3 separate regions of the Homo sapiens genome follow, and regions 2 and 3 are each linked to region 1. Evidence: promoter capture Hi-C in 16 types of primary human blood cells and fetal thymus (Javierre and others, 2016). All regions are on one chromosome and are shown on one strand. Each heading gives the region's core, a stretch centred on a gene start or on the middle of the fragment in contact. The rest is flanking DNA. Distances are from core to core; before and after follow the strand shown.

What was found. The method cuts DNA at HindIII sites, captures the fragments that hold promoters and counts their contacts. A CHiCAGO score of 5 or more calls a contact.
Region 2: a contact is called between the fragment with the promoter of KTN1-AS1 here and the fragment with the promoter of CNIH1 in region 1, in 1 of 17 cell types (total CD8 T cells). The highest score is 6.2, in total CD8 T cells.
Region 3: a fragment that was not itself captured here is called in contact with the fragment with the promoter of CNIH1 in region 1 in 1 of 17 cell types (M2 macrophages); the score reaches 5.5 in M2 macrophages.

The regions. Positions count from the first base shown.
Region 1 is chr14:54,439,014-54,443,202 of GRCh38, forward strand. It overlaps CNIH1 (cornichon family member 1), which reads right to left and starts at 2,361. Exons shown (of 5, transcript NM_005776.3): 1 at 2,234-2,361. The coding sequence starts at 2,314. RefSeq lists silencers at 1,835-1,884, 1,895-2,254, 2,295-2,564 and enhancers at 1,970-2,768, 2,645-2,704. The HindIII fragment of the contact is 1,439 bases long and covers 1,499-2,937 here.
Region 2 is chr14:55,578,698-55,582,654 of GRCh38, forward strand. KTN1-AS1 (KTN1 antisense RNA 1) reads right to left here and starts at 1,395. Exons shown (of 3, transcript NR_027123.1): 1 at 1,239-1,395; 2 at 1-40. KTN1 (kinectin 1) reads left to right here and starts at 1,510. Exons shown (of 44, transcript NM_001079521.2): 1 at 1,510-1,657. RefSeq lists enhancers at 735-854, 865-954 and silencers at 1,395-1,654, 1,715-2,354, 2,534-2,828. The HindIII fragment of the contact is 5,026 bases long and covers 1-3,957 here.
Region 3 is chr14:52,708,750-52,713,084 of GRCh38, forward strand. PSMC6 (proteasome 26S subunit, ATPase 6) reads left to right here. Exons shown (of 14, transcript NM_002806.5): 4 at 15-67; 5 at 2,352-2,419; 6 at 2,661-2,775. Among named protein-coding and RNA genes, the nearest start is that of PSMC6, 3.7 kb to the left of the region's middle. The HindIII fragment of the contact is 1,162 bases long and covers 2,101-3,262 here.

The sequences.
Region 1 (4,189 bases), core at 1,111-3,610:
CAGATGCCCAGTCTTATAGTCAGCAGAATCCTGAGGTAAATAAACCTCTTTTTTCTTTGTAAATTACTCAGCCTCCCGTATTCCTGTATAGCAACACTATAAACACTATAAAGGAATGGACTAAGATACTACCTAAGATGATAAACATAAGGTTATATGGGTAATAGAAAAATTAAAACTATCTATTTATTTAGAATTGTTTCCAAAAGGATACTAATTCTCTGAATGAAGAAATCCCTAAGCATAAAAGCTCTCCACGAATCTGCGGTATAATTTTTTTTTCATTGTATAACACGACTTAAAATTATTTACTTCACCCAGACACGCATTTGTTTAAGCTGAAATTACCCATTTTTTGAAAGTGCGGTTCAGGTTTTCCTTAAGCCAAACACAACCTGGTTCAAAACGTAAAAATGTGAAAAAGCCTACCCCACCACTCTAAGAATCCCCATCATCCCAGAAAAAAGGAATACCCATCAAGCAGAATGACTTAAAGCTACATCTACAGATGGAATGGAACCACACACTTTCTTTCTTTCTTTTTTTTTGTTTTTTTTTTGAGACGGAGTCTCCGCCCAGGATGGAGTGCAGTGGCGCCATCGCGGCTCACTGCAACCTCTGCCTCCTGGGTTCAAGTGATTCTCCTCCGCCTCAGCCTCCCGAGTAGCTGGGATTACAGGCGCCCACCACCATGCCCGGCTAATTTTTTTGTATTTTTAGTAGAGACGGGGTTTCACCATGTTGGCCAGGCTGGTCTCGAACTCCTGACCTCGTGATCCTCCCGCCTCGGCCTCCCAAAGTGCTGGGATTACAGGAGTGAGCCACCGCGCCCGGCCATGGAACCACACATTTTCATCAGAGGCCTACTAAGGTTGAGCTAGTCTGTATCCCAAATTATCTTAGGTATTGTTCTTCCATCAAAGCAGGGCTGAAGATGCTCTTCAAATTACTGCTCCTACTGACAAGCATTCTGAGGTAGCAGTTATTTCCGACACAGTTAATAGCCTACATAAGTATTCCTGATTACAATAAGCAGTCAGGTCCTAAAATAATTGTAAACATAATCACACTGCTTAGCAAAAAGGAATGGATTTGTGATATGCTTCCACTTTCGAGACTTTTTTGCACAAGACGCTGCTGCTGTTTAATCATTCTGCCCCTCCGTATGTTTCATAGAAATCCTTGTTACTGGCATGATGAAACCTGACTTAAAATCTACGTAAGAGTGAACGCGGTCATTCAAATTAAAAGCAACATTCCAGAAGGCACTGGAATATGGGGAAAAGAGAAGCAAGTATGAGATAAATTTTTAATGAATGATTTCCAGAAGGCTCTCAAGGCTTTTAATTTTGTGCTAAAGCAACAGAAATTCTTATCTCTGTAGAACTATGTCACAGGGAACTTACGACTTTTTCCTTAGAGGGACCAGTAAGGCTGTGCTTCCACCCTGCAATAGTGATGATGATGTGTGTAACAGAAATAAATACTGCCCCAGAAAAGCTTAAGGTTTCTGAGCATCTCAAAATCAAATGAAAACTCCCTCTACTAAATCAAGCAATCCTGAATATAAGGGTGGCTTGGAAAGCTGCCTGTTGAAACTCCAGCGGTCAAAGTATGATTTGGGGGGGAAACGCGCACATGCAATCAACAAAGTAATCAATTGAACTTGCATCAAAGTTCACCAGGAAACAACAATCTGGAAAAAGAGAAAAAAAGTGATTTGATTTGAAGAGCACCGAACAAGTGCTGAAAAGTAGAGTTGGAAATTCACCCTAAGTAGGTTACATTTTGGCCACAGTTCTGTGGAAACCCTAAAAGAAAGTCAATCTGTATTAACAAAAATTCGGAAAACTTCATTCACACTACGGCCGTCCCACCGCGCTGTCGACATCCTCCCCGGGAATGCAGGGCCGCGGGCCGGCAGAGGTCGGTGCGAACGCAGCGCGGAACCGCGGGCGCCCGCCTGGACCGCGGCCGCCCCATCCAGTAGGGGAGGAGTAGCGGTGCGCGCGGCCTGTGCCGAGGCAACGCGGGCGCGTCCACCTGGCGACTGCGCGCCCCGGCTCCTCCAGTACCCGCGGCCCCCAGACCCCTCGCCGCGCGGCCCGTGCCAGCCGGGCCGCATCCCCGACGCGCAAAGCCCCGGCGGCCGTGGCGGCCCGGACCGCGGGCCCGGGGCGAAAAGAGGCTGTGTTGCCGCCTCGCCCTCCTTTCCCCAGCCCCAGCTACTCACGTGCCAAATGGCGAAGAAGATGAGCGCGGCAGTGAGCAGCAGCGCCAGCATGTAGCAGAAGGCCGCGAACGTGAACGCCATGGCTGGGGAGGAGGAGCGGGGAGCGGCGCCGTTGCCAGCGGAGAAAGGCGGCGCAGGGCCCTCTGGGTAAAACCATTCACTTCCCCCGGCCACAGCCGCGACCGCCACCGCTACCGCCGCGGCGCCAGCCCTCTCAGCGCGCCTGCGCACCAGCCCAGCCGCCCCGGCGCCCTCTGATGGCCGGAGTCTGCGTTGCACTGACATTGTCCGCACAGTTGTTGATTGATTTTTCCTTCCTTCTTGCGTTTATTCTTTCAACAAATATTTATTGAATGAATGCCTAGTTTGTTACAGGTACCGCGCTTCTCGCTTCAGATACAAAGATGAATAAGATAGTACCTGCACTGAAAGAACTTAGTATAGTGCCGGAAATGAACACCTAAATAAATAATTACGTTATTATAACCCCGTAAACGGATGTGTGTGGGATGCTCTGAAAGGTCAAAGAAGGACAGCCAGCCCGCCCTGGAGCATTTAGGCAGGATTCCTGCTGTAGGTGTTTCCTAAGTTGGCCTTAGATGATGATAAGTTCTCCAGGCAAAAAGAAGGTAGAACTGGCAGTCCAAGGAAACAGTTCAGAATGAGGAAACGCAACAGAGATGGAAAAAAGAAAAGAAAAATAAAGCTTCGTGTCTCAGGTGAAACCAGCAGCAATTCTGTATTAATGGAACCTAAGTGCAAGACAGTGGTGAGACTTAGAAATGAATTAGCAAGGGATCAGATCATAGAGGGCCTTATAATGCTTCATTACGGAGCTCAGACTTCTTATCCCATAAGCCCAAATTTTTTGCTCACCACACACAACTAGAAAGATTTTTTTCATTGCAACCCAGTGGAATATCATACAGACATCAAGTTATGAAGAGGTGGAAATCTAGTTATAGAGGCAAAGAAATATAGATATGACCAAAACAAAAATTTCACAAAACTGTACTAATGATCCATAAGTACTTTCCCTTCTCTCTTTTGCTACTTGTTTTTAATGCTGGTCTTAACACACAAAATTGATTCAAAATTGATTTAACTTTCCATTACAACCATTTTTAAAAGAAAAAAACTCTATTAACTGATTGCTGCTGATGGAAGAGAAAATCATTGAAGGCTTTTGAGCAAAAGAAGACCATGTTTAGATTTGCATTAAAGATCGTTCACCTAGCAAATTGCGTAGAATAGTTTAGAAGCAGGGTCTGTCCAGTGCTGTGCAATAGAACCTTCTGTGATGGTGAAAATTTTCGATACCTAAACATTGCCCAATACAGTAGCCACTAGCCACATGTGGCCATTGGGCACTTGTAAATTGTCTAGCATGACTGAGGAACTGAACTTTAAATTTCACATCACTTTAAGTAAAATGTGGCTAGTGTATTGGACAGTACAACCTGTACCACCAGGATTATGTGGCACCTGTGTGCAAATTATCAAGTTACTTTTGGCCAGGCACAGCAGCTCATGCCTGTAATCCTAACACTTTGGGAGGCCAAGACAGGAGGATCACTTGAGCTCAGGAATTCAAGACCAGCCTGGACAAGGTAATGAGATCTTGAGAGGTGACAGCGTGCTGGCAGTCCTCACAGCCCTCCCTCACTCTCGGCGCCTCCTCTGCCTGGGCTGCCACTTTGGCGGCACTTGAGGAGCCCTTCAGCCCACCGCTGCACTATGGGAGCCCCTTTCTGGGCTGGCCAAGGCCAGAGCCAGCTCCCTCAGCTTGCAGGGAGGTGTAGAGGAAGAGGCGCGAGGGGTAACCGGGACTGCGCAGGGTGCTTGCGGGCCAGCTGGAGTTCCGGGTTGGCGTGGGATTGGCGGGACCCTCACTCGGAGCAGCCGGCCGCCCCTGCCGGCCCCGGGTGATGAGGGGCTTAGCACCCGGGCCAGTGG
Region 2 (3,957 bases), core at 145-2,644, 1.1 Mb after region 1:
TGCTTTGAGGGCACTGGAACCGCTGAGGGGCAGAGTAATCCTAATGAGAAAGAAAAAAGAGGACGCCTCTGGAGTTAAAATAAGACAATGCATCTGTGGAGAACACGGTGACTGAAGACTGGCAGAATTCTCAATATCTCAGGCCACTATACACTGCGCAGTTTTCATTTGTATTTTGGAGGTGCTCTAGAAAACTTAGAAATGATTAGAATAAAAAGTATGGATACTTTTAACCAGCCCATGTACAGGAAATTCTGTTGGTGTAGAAACGGTTCTGCTGTTCATTCCTTAACTGCTTCTGTTCCCACTTTGTCAGATGTAGGGCGAGGTGGTGGTGGTGAGTCCTAATTTTTTCTATCTCTATCCACAGTCTGGAATCGTTAGGATTATTTTAAGCCTTCATAACATTTGCGGACAGCTTGGAGTGTTTTGTACATGTAGTGGGGCAGTGCCTGGCCTCCTGTGAGAGATTGATCATCGGTAAACAATCCACACGAAACTCACTTGCCAGTGGACGGGGAGGATCGCTGCCATCCTTTCAGCAAAGAGCAAACGAATAAGGAGAGATCCGGGCCCATCCCTCCTCGCGCAGCAGTTTCTAGATTTTTACCCCGGCTTCATAAATGGCTACCAGCTGGCAGTCACAACACTTTCATAATGTTTGCACACAACTCATTTGGGTCGCTTTCTTTTCTTTCCTTTTTTTTTTTTTTTTTTTGAGAGAAACGGAGAGTCTTACTCTCTCGCCCAGGCTGGAGTGCAGTGGCGAGATCTCGGCTCACTGCAACCTCCGCCTCCTAGATTCCTGCGATTCTCCTGTCTCAGCTTCCCAAGTAGCTGGGGCTACAGGCGTGCGCCACTATGCCCAGCTAATTTTTTGTACTTTTTTTGGCAGAGACGGGTTTTACTATATGTTGGCCAGGCTGGTCTCGAACTCCTGACCTCAGGTGATCCGCCTGCCTTGGCCTCCCAAAGTACTGGGGTTACAGGCGTGAACCACCGCGCCCGACCATTATTTGGGTCGCTTTCTAATTTCTTTCTCCGTTTGTAGCTAGCGTTGCCCGAAGGAGATTTCAGAGAGATCCCCTGGAGAAAGGGACGGGGGATGTCGTTTTCCAGTAATTTCTGGGGGAAATCTGGGATAGTCAGGGGGTAAATCTAGTGCCGTTTGCTGAAGTTAAAAGGCGTGGGGAGCCAGGTGGTGCCCTGGAGGGAGGGCCGCGCGAGACGAGACCAACCTTCGGGACAGGGGAGAGCGGGGCTACTGAACGCAGGGGATTCCGCTGAGCCTCCAGCCCCTGAGCGTCCACCTTCGGCCCAGCTGGGGGACGCGGTCTCGGGAAGAAAGCCCGGAATCCCGAGCCGGCCAGCCGCGAGCAGCGAGTACCGGAGCGCGTGGGCAGGCGCGCGGAGGCAGAGGCGGGCCGGCGGCTGTCCCTTTAAGGGGCCGGTCTCCCGGCGCCGCCGGCCCAGACGCCAGGACGTGCCGGGTCCGCCCCGCCCCGCCCCGAAGCCGCCCGTTTCCTGCCGAGCGGCGCGACGGCACCTGAGCGACTGCGGCGGCGGCGGCGGCGGCGGCGGCGCCTCGGAGCGGGCGGCCCGGGCTGTAGTGCCGGCGCCGCCGCGTCTTCCCGGTCTCCTTTCCCGGCCGCACAGGGTGAGGGAGAGCAGGCCGCACCGGGACGGGCGCCGGCGGCGGGGAGCGCGGGGGGAGGCGGCGCCGGCCGCGGGGTCCTGGGGCAGGCGGGAGGGCCGCGCCGGGCGGGGGGGCGCGGCCGCGGGGCCCGGACGCCGCCCGCTGGGTAGGCCTCGGGCATCCGGTTGCCGCCGCGGGGCTCTTGTTGGGGCCGGGACGCCGCAGGGGGCGGGCTCGGAGGGACCTCCTCGGCCTCGCGGGGCCGCTCTGGGCCCGACCCCGGCTCTGTCGCGGCACCCGGGGCGCGGCCGAGGGACACCCCCCACCCTCCCCAAGGACGACTCTCCCGAAGGCGAGGTCGACCCGAGCGGGCCCTGGGGTGACCGAGGCACCTATTTTTAGCCAAGCCTGAGGGCCCCCGGGAGGGAAGGCGGATTACCGCCTCCTCGGCCGGTGGACGGAGGCAGCGCGTCTCCGGCGGCGTCCCCGGGCCGGAGCTGGGCCACACTTACGCCATGCTGGAGTTCCAGTCCTCGCCGCTGCCTCCGGCGGTCTGGGCGCTCGCCCCCTTCCCCGGCGCCCCTCCCGCTGCCCTTTGCGAGTCCCCAGGTCAGGGCGGGAGGCGGTTGGGCACGGAAAGCAGCATGAGGGGGGACTTTGGAAAAATCCATGGACCACTCTCGACACCGGCGAAGTTATCCCTTCCTGTCCCCGAGGGGTGTGTCCTAGCGATTCGGCCTGACCCCTTCAGTTTCCAAAAGTGAGATTTTTGGCCTTGGGGACCTCGCCGGAAAACTACGCGGGAAGTCTAGAGAAGTCGTCTGGCTCTCAGCCATACGTCTGGTGTGGGATGTGCAGCCCCGCATGCTGGCGGTGAAGGCGCTGGGTGCACTAGATGTGGGCAGCCCCGGACGCGGGCAGCGGCGTCCCAGCCGGCCCCAGTTGCACCTTGACTAGGTTAGGTTGAAAGTAAGCTGTTCAGTGTTGGCCCTTCTTTCCTGTGGGAGGAAGGAGGAATCTAAATTCAGAACTGTGTTGGCAAACGGATTCCTTAGCCGCTATTTAAGTTAGTAGTGCTTAAAGAGCTACGGTTGAAGTTAACTGTTAAGGTGTGTGTGTGTGTGTGAGTGTGTGTGTGTGATGACTTTGTGGAAAGCCTTGAGTAAAGAGCTACGGTTGAAGTTAACTGTTAAGGTGTGTGTGTGTGTGATGACTTTGTGGAAAGCCTTGAGAAATGTAGACACTCATGGCCAGCCCAGCTAAAGATAAGCATCTTCGGTGAACTAAAGGTTCTGAATTGTATAGGAGTTGACTTAAAGTTAGAATTTTTGCTAAATTAGGTTGCATTTGTTTTCCTTAGCTTACCTAGCAGGCTAATGGCAACAGTGTCTCCAGTTTGGTCCGAAGCAATTGCTGGTGAGACTTGGGATAATGATCCCAAGCTGGTGAGACTTGGGATAATGATCCCAAGAATAACACTAAATTACTCTTGAGTATTTTGGGTAGACATGCCTTGCAGTAGACTTTCATATTTGATGTGCTGCCTGATAAAAAAGGCTCTTTTTTTTTTTCCTTTTTCCTTTTTTTTTAGTTTAAGGATCTAACCTGAAATAGCTGGGTCTGTTCATGAGTTTCCCTCCCACCCCAACATTGAGTTTCAAATGTCTCTTCTAATTTTGTAGCCTTCATCAGACATAACAATACCTTATCAAGTGAGCTTAGAGAATAAGGTGTTCTACTTGATTTACTTGAGGCTGATAATGAATTTGAAAATATAACAAGATCTATTGAAAAATTTTCTTAATACTTGAAAATTATAAAGAATATCAAGTATTTAACTCTTAATGATTCAGCGTCAGCATTATGAAGAGACATTTACGATTTTGTTTCCAATTTAGATCTTTCTGTATTCTTTTAATACCAGTAGTCTCTTCTGTTTGATGTTGTGTTTGTCCCTAAAAATGCCTCACTTCAGTCTCCCTTCTAGTTTATAGGCTTTAATCTGCTTTTGGTAGGGAGATCGTTTTAATAATTATATTTTTAATATCAGTCAATATGGCTTTTTAAAAGAGCCTAAGACGTGAAAACCTTTTTGAGACTTCTAAAGAACCCATATTAAGATTGTCACTGTTCTTAAGTTCTTAACTTGAATGTTAAGTTATGGTTAAAAGTTCTTAATCAGCCTGTCATGGTTAAGATGACACGTAGAATACTGAATCATAATTGTTTTTTTAAAAGTTGAATGTGTCTTATACATTTCCTATGTGTAAGTTAATTTCTTAACTTGAATGGAACATGTGTTTTTAATTGTATGCCTATAA
Region 3 (4,335 bases), core at 1,432-3,931, 1.7 Mb before region 1:
GTTTTTTCTTCTAGTCATTGTTAAAGCTACCAATGGACCAAGATATGTTGTGGGTTGTCGTCGACAGGTAATACTTTATATTTGTATAGTGCCTGATGATTGACAAAGCAGTTTCATGTAAGTTATTGTCTCTAATTCTTGAGGCAAGCAGGTGGAGCATTTATGCCCATAACTCACAAGGATGATTTGTTCAGACATAGCTAGTTATTAACAAAGCCTGAATTCAAACCATGGGCTTTGACTCCTGGCATTCCGTACTTTCTACTGTATTACATTGTCTCAGTCAGATCTGTTAATAGCCACTTAGAAATAAAAGTATTTTAGAACTGGAAAACAGACATTTTATTTTAATGTCATTTTTAAAGAGGACTTAAAAGTGTTAGATATCATCAGTTACCTGTGTTTATATTTAGACATTCAGAACTGTTACTTATGGACTGTACCATGGCCTAAGTTAATTTTGTATGAGGTCATTTAGATTAGGGTAGGGCAAGTTGAAATAATTCTAAATTTTATTTTACAGTTATCAAAGATGCCAACAAATGACCTCAAGTCATTCAGTAGTGTCTGAAATCAATTTATGTATTATTCTTTAGGAAGTGTCCTTAGATAATTCTTTTAAATTCATTGGAAGAGTTTTCTCTGTTTAATTGTCATTTCAGGTTCAGGTTTTAAAACATTCACAGAACATGGCTGTAAGGGAGAATTTAATCCAGGAACTATAAATCTCCTATTAGGATTTTGCCTAGTATATAAGCGGTTGACATTTTCTAAGTCAAAATATTAGATACCTAAACTGACAAGGGATTTTCATGTCCCTTTCAGGGCTCTGTGGATGCCGAAAGTTGGCATTTCTAAGATATTTCAGGTTGCATGAGGACAAGACTGTATTTGAAGACTAAAAAACATTAGAAAAGCCGAAGTATATATAAGTTGAGTATCCCTTATCCAAAATGCTTGAGCCAGAAATGTGTTTTAGATTTTGGCTTTTTTTTTTTCAGGTTTTAGAATATTTGTGTTGTACTGGTTGAGCATCCCTAATTAAAAAAAATCAAAAGTTTGAAATGCTCCGATGAGCATTTTCTTTGAGCATCATGTCAGCATTCAAAAAATTTCACATTGTGGAGCATTTTGGATTTTCAGATTAAGAATACTCAGCCTGTATTTCCTATAGATGTAAACATTGAAATAGCTTCATATTGATTTCTCCTCTTATTTTTTCAAGTAACCTCACTTCTTAGCCGTTTTTTCCTTAATTGTTATATTAATCCTAGTGTTTTGCCTATCTTCCTAAATTTGAAGCTCTTTGTAAAATCCTGTGACAAGTGGTCAGTAATTTATATGATTCCGAAATTGTATTGGCACGCAGTTTTTTAAACTATTAAAAAGTAACTTGGGTCGGGCGGGGTGGCTCATGCCTGTAATCCCAGCACTTTGGGAGGCTGAGGTGGGCAGATCACGAGGTCAGGAGATCAAGACCAGCCTGACCAACATGGTGAAACCCCGTCTTTACTAAAAAATACAAAAAAAAATTAGCCGGGCATGGTGGCACACACCTGTAATCCCAGCTACTTGAGGCTGAGGCAGGAGAATTGCCTAAACCAGGGAGGCAGAGGTTGCTGTGAGCCAAGATGGCGCCACTGCACTCCAGCCTGGGCGACAGAGTGAGACTCCGTACTCCATCTCAAAAAAAAAAGTAACTTTATCTTTGAAAAGTAACAACATCCTGAGAGTGAGGCAGATCTAGTAGATTCTAATTTTAGCCAGATAAGCCAAGAAATTATTTAGTATGATTCAACCTAATGTGTAATGTGTTCAGCATGTGCCTGTCATGTAGCAAAGGCATGAGTGATGGTTGCTGGGTTTTGGGGCTTTAAATTTAAAGCATTTTAATAAAAATCTCTAAGGGGAAACCGTGCATTTTTCTCTACTCTCATGAGCATTTAACACATTCTTCCCAGAAGCTGTACATTTCAAAATAAATCTGATGAGCACACCTTTAAAATGCTTCCCTTTCCTTTCCCTAAAATGTTCACTAAGGGATTTTTCTATAAATGCTTTGGTAGCAATTCCCAAAGTCACTGTACCATTGCTGCCTCAAGCTTTGTGTGTTAGTCATTTCACATTTTACACTGAGATTACACAAAGGGGCATGCTTTTAAGGAGCAGGTGGAAATCACTTTGAATTACTTATTTTATAAGCCATTTTGTTAGCATAGAGTTTATAATCTGATATTTGTGTTCTCTCTGGAGGGTAAAAATGAGTGTTTGGCTTCTAAATATTAAACTCTCGTTAGAGTGTTATTCCGTTTTTAAGTGTTGATGTAATATCTTTTGTTTTACAAAACTAGCTTGACAAAAGTAAGCTGAAGCCAGGAACAAGAGTTGCTTTGGATATGACTACACTAACTATCATGAGGTGGGTTTCTTATTCTATTTAGTTCACCTTTTATTTTCACAAAGGGTGGTTTTTATCTGAGATATATGCTTCTTGAGATCACTGAATATTTTGGCACTTTTTCCCTTTTACTAGTTTCTAATTAAGCACATCTTTATGAGATCAGCTACAGGTGCTTGCTTGAGCAAGTTATTTATATGCTATCTGTAGGCTAAGAGAAAATATATCTTTCAAAAGAAAAATACATACCTTTTCATTCTAGATATTTGCCGAGAGAGGTGGATCCACTGGTTTATAACATGTCTCATGAGGACCCTGGGAATGTTTCTTATTCTGAGATTGGAGGGCTATCAGAACAGATCCGGGAATTAAGAGAGGTTGGTACTGTGTGCCTTGTTCTCTGAACTTAGCTAATAAATACTACTAGTTTTAGGATTCTTAACAGGAGAAACAGGATGAAAAAGTACTTTTTGTCTAAATGGTAGTTAAGAATATTATGTATTTACTATTCTTGCTAAGAAGAATAGCACTGAATTTCTAGCTGTGAAAATTACTGTTTTTTTTTATTTGGAGATAATTTGGTGTTAGAAAAATCCTGCTCTTTTTGTGGCAAAGGAACGGAGAAAAAGCTAAAAATAATTGATGTAATCTGATATCCTGTGGTTTTGATTATCATAATAAGTTACTTGGGTCAGAGCATATTTGGATAATGTGTGTGATGAGTTTTTTCCATAACCTCATTAATACTAGCTTCCCACTCTTACAGAAGAGTAGGGTACCTGTTCCTTAAATATTTTATTTTGTTAAAGCTGTTTGCTGCCATTCCAGAAAACCACTGGCTTTAGGATTGTCTTAAATCTTGTAAGCTTTTAGGTGAACAGTCAAATCAGGATTGCCTTACTTCATAGCACAGACAGCTTCTTAACTGTTATCTGTAAAGCAAATTACATTGTCCTATGGATTTTATCCTAAATTAGGCTGTGAATATTTAGGAATTAATGGGAATAATTGGAATGTCTTACACAATCTGATTTAAGCTTTAAGCCAGTTCTCATACTTCAGTACATTAATTTTTTTTGGAACACTTATTAAAAATACACATTACTAGGCCCTCTGAGTGGTTTTGATGGACTAGATTGGGGGTAGGCACAGGAATTAGCATTTAAACAAGCATTCCAAGTGATTATGAAACCAAATTTTTCTTTGACAATACTTGAGGAAGCACTGGTCTAAGTGTAAAAAAAAAAGGCAGTTCTCACCTGTATTAATGAAAGGGCAACAGAGGAAGAACAGGTGCTTCATAAAACGGTGAAAACTTGCTTTCAACAGTGATTTGCTGCATTAGCCATAGGAGCAGAAAGAATCCCATGTATACATGCAGTATCCTTTACTGTCTGCAGATACTTTACACTTTAGAGTATTGATTTCTCTCACTTCTGGCTTTTCCCAGTCACGCTTTATGCACATATGGACACAACTTTTTTTTTTCTTTTGAGACAGGGTCTGGTTCTTTTGCCCAGGCTGGAATGCAGTGGTGCAGTCTCAGCTCACTGCAACCTCTACCTCCCAGGCTGAAGTCATCCTCTCACCTCACCCTCCCAAGTAGCTGAAGGCATGCGCCACCACATGTGACTAATTTTTTTATTTTTTGTAGAGATGGGGTTTCACCATGTTGTCCAGGCTCTTCTCGAACTCCTGAACTCAAGCCATCCTCCAGCCTTGGCCTCCCAAAGTGTTGGGATTTACAGGCGTGAGCCACCGCACCTAGCCCAACACAACTATTCAATAGAAATTTCTCTCTCGGTCAGGCATGGTGGCTCACGCCTGTAATCCCAGCACTCTGGGAGGCTGAGGTGGGTGGATCATCTGAGGTCAGGAGTTCAAGACCAGCCTGCCAATACAGTGAAACCCCATCTCTTCTAAAAGTACAAAAATTA